2 separate regions of the Homo sapiens genome follow, and region 2 is linked to region 1. The links are contacts of gene promoters, found by promoter capture Hi-C in blood cells and fetal thymus (Javierre and others, 2016). All regions are on one chromosome and are shown on one strand. Each heading gives the region's core, a stretch centred on a gene start or on the middle of the fragment in contact. The rest is flanking DNA. Distances are from core to core; before and after follow the strand shown.

Region 1 (3,592 bases), core at 572-3,071:
ATGGGGAAACTGAACTTCAGTGTCAAAGTGGAGTGAACAGCTTAGACATGCAAACTTCCCTGCCCCAAAACCCACTGTAAGACCCGGTGGCCACAGAGACACCCGCCGAATAAGGGACACAGAGGCCTCTGGAGAACACTGCACCAGGACCATTCCAGGTGCAACATCAGGAGGCAGCTCTGAGCTTGCCTCTGAGCCTGGCCCTGCTGGGCAAGGAGGGACATCAGGGGACTAAAGGCAGAGGACCAGTCCCAATAGGTCCAAGACCTGGTTCCAGTCTAGGTTCACTGGGCTGGGTACCACTCACTGGGACTACTCTGTGCCTTAGTTTCCCTCAGAAATGACTGCAGAGAAGAAGAAAATGACTTAATAACCCATGGGTAGCGGCAGCCTAGCAGCCTATGGAGTCCTGGGAGGGGGAAAGGGCCGCCAAAGCGTCTCATTGGAGGGCAGGGACCTGAGTCACAGTCTCCTGCCAGCCCTATAGCTGAATAGGGGTCCTGAGGAAGGTCCCACAGGTCCAGATGCAAGTCCAGGGAACAGGCTGAGAAGTTGATCTTGAGCTCCCAGCAGGGCCGCTGAGGGCCGATGCCCCATTCTCACCCTAGAAAGCGGCAGGCAGAGCTGGGCCTCAGGCAGATGTTGCCTAGGGGAGTGGGCAGGGAGCGTTGGCAGCGAGACAGCCAGTGTCCAGATGCAGGGGGAGGCCTTTGGGTGCGCAAGACAGCCAGCGGGGAGAAGGAGTGAGGAGCAGCCGTGGCTGGGGAGGTCAGACCCAAACGGGCAGCCACAGCGGGAAGCAATGGGGGTGGGGCACTGGGTGGCCTGCGGGCCCCAGAGGGCTCTCTCCTGGCCCACAGGCCTAGAAACTCTGGTCGTGGGAACCCAGCCCATCCGCCAAATTTGCCGCCTGCTCTCACACTCCCCAACACCAACAGACCCCAGGCCTGGGGGGTGCACATCCTGTCCCCCACCCCTCACACAGCCTGCGGCGCCCCGCTTCCCGCGCCGCTGCCGGCATTGACCTCCACAGCTCACCAGGGCACAGGTGTCTCTTCACCCTGATGGGTGAGCAAGGATGGGGGGCAATGCTCAGAGAAACCTCCCAGCCAGAGACCCCTCCAAGGGACCTCTTTCCCCGCCGAAGGATCTGAGTAGGGCCCTGCCCGGCTCCACGGGATGGGGGCGCTGATGTCCAGCCCCACAAAGCCCAGCCCCAACTCAGTGGGTCCTGCCCTTTGCCCTCGCGCTTCCAAACCTTCCGCCCCGGAGCACCGCCCCCTCGCCGGGCCACCGCGGCCGTCCCTCCCTCCCCGGTCCCTCGGCTCGTCCTCCCCGGGAACAGGGGTGATGGGACGTGGGGCCCGCACACCGGCGGCCGGGGCCTCCAACTCCCTCCCTTGGGCCTGTAGCTGCCCCGGGGCGGGCGGATGTGGGCGCCCCGCGGGAGGCCCGAGCCCTCCGGCCCCCGGAACCAGCTCCGACCCGGAGCCTGCCAGAGCCCCGCGGAGCCGGGCGGGACAGGCGCGGTCGGGGGGCGCAAGCCGGGCTGGGCCCGCGGGGCTGGCGGGAGCCCGAGCCGGAGCCGGAGCCGGAGCCGGGGCCAGGGCCGGAGGCCGAGCCTGGGCGGGCGACGCTGGGTGCCGCGCGCAGGGCGGGGCGGGGGGCGGCCGCCCAGTACTCACCAGCGCCGGGGCTGTGCATCCAGGGGCCGGGGCCCTCAGAGCGGGGGGCTCATGGCGGGGCGGGGGGCTGGGGCGCCGGCCTCACATCCCCCCAGTCGCCGGAGGCTGCAGAGCGACTGTGAGACGGCGAGAGGAAGGGAGGGGGCCGGGAGGGGGAGGGCCCTGGCAGCCCGGCCGGCCGGGTAGGATGACAATGGAAGGAAATGCTTTATCTGAGTCTGAGAGCGGGCCAAGGGGGAGGGGAGGGAGGGGGCAGGCGCTCGCGGCCCTGGGACACACCACCCCGGCAGACACTGCACCGCGCGGCGCACAGGCGGGCCGCAGACACCGCGCGCGGCCAGATCGCGGCGGGGCGCGGCGCACTGCCGGGGAGGCAGCGCCGAACCCGGAACGCCGGCCGCGGCTCCGAGCCCCAGCCGCCGCGAGGCGCTCCGAGCCGTGCACAATTCCCGGAAACCCAGCTACCTGGGCGCACGCACCCTCGCATACACAACGTACACGAGCACGCATCCATGTTTACAAGGGGCAGAATCATTTACACAGCACACACTGGGGCTTCGGGGTGGACCCCCGTGCACACACTACATACCCGTACAGCCCACAAGCACGCAGCCACACGCGGGCACAGTGGGACACGCGTGGTGTCCCATGTCCCATACAAGGAATCCCAGACGGACACCCCCCACCACACACACACACACATAAGCACGACTTGCCTCAGGAAAGTTCCAGGATCTGATTTGAATCACTGCCCAGCCCTCCCCCACTGGCACCCCCACACACACACCATGCCTGCTGAGGGGAACGGAAGGGTCCAGCCTGTTCCTATTAAAAGAAAAAGGGTGTGGGGGTGGTGCAGATTTTGAAAGTTTTCTTTTTTTAAAGAAATTTCTCAAGGGACTTCCTTCCCTCCTCTCCTCTTCCTCTCTTCCTCCCATTCCTCTCCCTCCACAACCCCCCTCTTTCCCCCTCCCGGTCCCTATGAGTCAAACTTCAGCAATGTGCCCAGTGTCCCCCAGTGCATTACAGCGGATCACAGAAATGTTCCAGTCTGTGAGTCGGAATGCAGCCGCCTCCAGCCCTCCCTCAGCTAATAAACTCAGCTCAGGGCCGGCTTTAGGCAGTGGCCCTCCCTGCCTCTCCCTCCGCTTTTAGCTGGAGAGAAGGTCAGATTCAGGGGTCAGGGGCTAAGGACCTCGCCATTGTGCTTCCTGGGCTAGCCGGTCAGCCGTGTCTGCCTCCAGCAATCTGGAGCTGCTCCTAGGAAGGGGAGAGGTCCACCACGCAGGAACACTGGGCTCTCTGCAGCGTGAGGCGCCACCATTGTAAACCAAGGAGCAGCTTCCCCTGACCCCATTCTATCTCCCGCAATCCTAAGAAACCCCAAGAATCCAGAGAAGGAAAAATTGAGGCAGCCCCAGAGGTGGAGTCATGTCTGATTGGAAGCAAGAGCCCACAGTGGCCTAGGAGGGCTTGGCCATGCTGGCGGTGAACTTCAAACCATAGATTCTATTCCCTTCCCTCAGGCACAGCTCGGGACTCACTATCTGTTGCTACCGGCATATTCAGCGTGGGACTTCTTACTTCAGCCCCTTTCCTTGTCCCAGTTCTCCTTCGGCAGGCAGATCCAACCCCTCTGCGCTTGTTAACTTACCCTCCCAAAAGCCTTTCCTGGCATTCAAGTCCTCCTACAACCTGGCACCACACTCCATACACATCCCTGCCCAGTGCCTCCTGGTACTTAGGGCTCAGTAGTGTTAGTCACTATTATTACTATCATTATTTCTGCCAGACTGGGCTGCTAGCTGCTTCCCATCCTGTCCTCACGCTTCCACACTCCCTTGCCTTCGCTCATCATGCTGCCTCCAAAAGAAATGTCCTCCCAGCCCCTTTCTCCTTCTGTTGAA
Region 2 (3,592 bases), core at 745-3,244, 1.8 Mb before region 1:
TTCACGGTATTCTCTGGGAGCTCACATTCTTCCAGCAAAGTTTTTTAAATGTTAGAGGTCATTGTGGTTCCATCCTAGGCCTTTTTTCCCCCAAGTTATATTCCCTCACCTAGGCAATTTCATCCATACCTATAGTTCCAATTACCTGTATGGGAGATTCCAGTTTTCCATTTACAGCCAATACTCTTCCTCTGAATTTCAGAACCATGTATCTAATTGCTTACAGGAACTTCTACCTGAAAGCTCCAAAGGTACTTTAAGCCTGATATGTTAAAACCAAAAGAGCTCTGGTCCTTATCTGGCACAACCCAGGAATGTAATCCAGAAATCATCTTTCAAATTTCTTTCTCCCTCACTTTCAATCTATTAACTAAGGCCTGCTGGTCTCAAATCCCATCCACTGAGCCCATCTCCACAATTATCATCCTAATTCAAGCTATCCTCATCTCTCCCAGACTACTAAAAAAGCCTGCTAACTAATTCTCCCAGATCTCTTGCTGCCTCTCTCCTCCCTTTCAATACACATCACCACAATCCTAGTTTTGCCTTCTGGAACTATAAGAAATTAATATGGCTTCTAAATGACAACATTTTTAACAATAAGATAGTTATACTGCTTGATATGGTTTGGCTGTGTCCCCACCCAAATCTCTCTTGAATTGTATTCCCATAATTCCCACGTGTTGTGGGAGCAACCTGTTGGGAGATAATTTGAATCATGGGGGCAGTTTCCCCCATACTGTTCTCATGGTAGTGAACAAGTCTCACAAGATCTGATGGTTTTAACAGATGTTTCCGCTTTTGCATCTTCCTCATTTTCTCTTGCCACCAACCACTATGTAAGAAGTGCCCTTCTCCTCCCACCAAGATTCTGAGGCCTCCCTAGCCATGTGGAACTGTAAGTCCAATTATACCTCTTTTTCTTCCCAGTCTCAGGTATGTCAGCAGCATGAAATCAGGCTAATGCACTGCTCTACTCTTAGCTGAGGCATTCTTAGCTCCTTCTATATTAAGACAAATGATAGTTTCAAGGTCACATACTGTTATACTCCTCTAAAAACACAGACCCCTTAGGCTGGGTGTGGTGGTTCATTCCTGTAATCCCAGCACTTTGGGAGGCCAAGGCGGGATGATTACTTAGCCCAGGAATTTGAGACCAGCCTGGGCACCAAAGTGAGAGCTGTGATCACACCACTGCGCTCCAGCCTGGGAGACAGCGAGATGCTATCTGAAAGCAAAAACAAAACAAACAACAACAAAAAACAAGGACCCCTGAAATGAACATGGCCCACATGCATGGATATAAGTAACTTGGCAGTTTATGCTACAGACTGAGACTTGCTTAGTCTAAAGTTTCAAACCACAATCACTATTTGTAACGTTTACAGCTGAAAGCAGGTTAATTCATTAACTTACACTGAAGGCATTGTTCAGGTGTTTAGGTGACAAATACTGACAAATGCTGATCTCACAGAAGATAAATCACAGTGAAGAAAATAAACAATAAACCTAAGTTAGATTACACAATATGTTGCAAAATGATAAATGCAATGGAGAAAAATCTAGCATAAAAACAGATACAAAATATCGGGGGAAGGCTGTTGTTTTATACACAGTAGTTAGAGAAGACCACAACAGCGTAGGGGAAAGGAGATTGGAGAAAGGGTGAGGAGATGAAGTCAGAGAGGAAGAAGAGACTTAAATCATAGAGCCTTGTAGACCATAGGAGTATGGAATTTACTATGACTGAGAAGGGAAGCCATTTGAGAAAAGAAGTTACATGACCTGACATTTTATCAGGATCACTCTGGCTATGGAGTGTTAAAGACTGTAGATCAGCAAAGGTCACAGTGACTTTTTAGGAAGATATTTTTGAAAGCAAAATAGTGGTTGTGTTTTTACGTTATGTATTGAATTTTTATGTGTCTATGTACTAGGATTTCATACATTAAGTTCATAGACACAACTTAAAAAAATACAATGCAAAGATGAGTTTTGGGAATAGCAAGAGAATGATACTGGATATTTTAACTCTGGGCTCTACTCAGCACTACTAACAGTTATTACTGCTCAGAAGCAAGACAAGGTGCAAGGTTATTAACTTATTTTGGGGGACAGAGTATAATTAAAAATCTGGATTTTAAGTTTATTTCACTGGGCAAGGTAAGTCAAGGTACAATTTACATCTTAAAAGACAAAAGCAGGTGATAGCAGGGCTTGCTAAAGGGAAGTTACAATGAAAATTATTCTACAGTTGACTTTCTTTTTATTACTTTTATGCCTGCTACTCTCTTTAATTAAGGTGCTACAACTATCTCTGATATACTTTAAAAGTTCAGTATTAAGTTGATGGGTAGTATAGTACTGTATTTTCTGATTACTAAAAGATGTTACTGATGATGAATCAACAGTATCATGTAACTGCACTGATTCATCCTATCTCTGCTGAATAAAAGCACAGGTTTTCCAGAAAACTGTCTAAGCTCTAGTTGGTGCCAAAGGACGATAGAGAGCTAAGTAACTCCTGAAAAGTTTCGATCTTAACACACTAGCCCTATTACCACATGAAGGTATTAACAGAAAAAATTAAAAAATTATCCGTAAAATTTTCTCCATGACATGTTTTCTGGCAACATATTTAGAAACTTTAAATTTTCTTCTACAGTTTTCTTCCCCTTTATACTGAAGAATGTCTTTAAAGCATGAGTATACTTACAGTAAGCAAACATTCAAATTTTACCCCAGTGAAATCTTAAAATGTACTCAAACTCTCAGGCAAAAAGTTCACTATCTGAATGTGAAAAACTGAATGACTGTTAAAATATCTGCAAGCACCAAAAAATATTATAGCTAAAATGCAGCTACCCTAAGAACTGTTTTTAAAAAACTCACATTGCATAAAAAATATAAATTCAGATTATCCGATAGGATAATATAAAACAAAAGAAATCCAAAGACAGTTTCAAGATTTCATTTCTCTTGCTTAGTTAAAACAACAAAAACAAAAGGCCCATGAACTTTTTCTTGCATCTTTTAACCAAAATAGTGACATGATCAAGCCAACTGCCAAAGAAACAGGAAAGAGAAAGCAATTGTTTAGAAACAGACTTGATTACATGTCAAAATTTTAATACAATTACTAATAAAATACAAAAACCAACCGTTATTTTAAAATGTACTGCCCTGATATTCTGCTGCTGAGGTAGGTGGTGATATGTAGAAATTAATTTTTCTTTTAAAACGAAAAAATAATGCATTTATTAATATGCTTTTCCCAAAATTCGGGGAAAATTCCCAAATCGGAGAAAAAAATTTAACATCAGCATCTACTACACAAAGCATTAAAAACATTTTTCAGCAGTTTTGCTTAAGTATCTTAGGTCAGTGGTAGCATGTTAGCCAAAATGTAATCCAAAATGAATGAACAACAGTCAGCTGGTAGACACTGTATGTAATACAATACGGAAATATATTGGAAGTATTTCAAAATTCAACATTTGAATCCGTGAATGTCTAAATCAAGTACTCTAAATCAGGCGTCTACTTTTGAAACAATACTTCAAAATACGTGTTGGTGGCAAGACCGCCAGCC

Evidence for each region. The method cuts DNA at HindIII sites, captures the fragments that hold promoters and counts their contacts. A CHiCAGO score of 5 or more calls a contact.
Region 2: a fragment that was not itself captured here is called in contact with the fragment with the promoter of HDAC7 in region 1 in 1 of 17 cell types (neutrophils); the score reaches 5.6 in neutrophils.

The regions. Positions count from the first base shown.
Region 1 is chr12:47,818,082-47,821,673 of GRCh38, forward strand. HDAC7 (histone deacetylase 7) reads right to left here and starts at 1,822. Exons shown (of 26, transcript NM_015401.5): 1 at 1,686-1,822. The coding sequence starts at 1,704. RefSeq lists enhancers at 1-33, 751-1,324, 2,663-3,584 and silencers at 1,233-1,542, 1,553-1,632, 1,773-2,112. The HindIII fragment of the contact is 23,145 bases long and covers 1-3,592 here.
Region 2 is chr12:45,986,006-45,989,597 of GRCh38, forward strand. The region is part of intron 1 of SCAF11 (SR-related CTD associated factor 11); the gene reads right to left. Among named protein-coding and RNA genes, the nearest start is that of SCAF11, 2.8 kb to the right of the region's middle. RefSeq lists a silencer at 698-747. The HindIII fragment of the contact is 7,512 bases long and covers 1-3,592 here.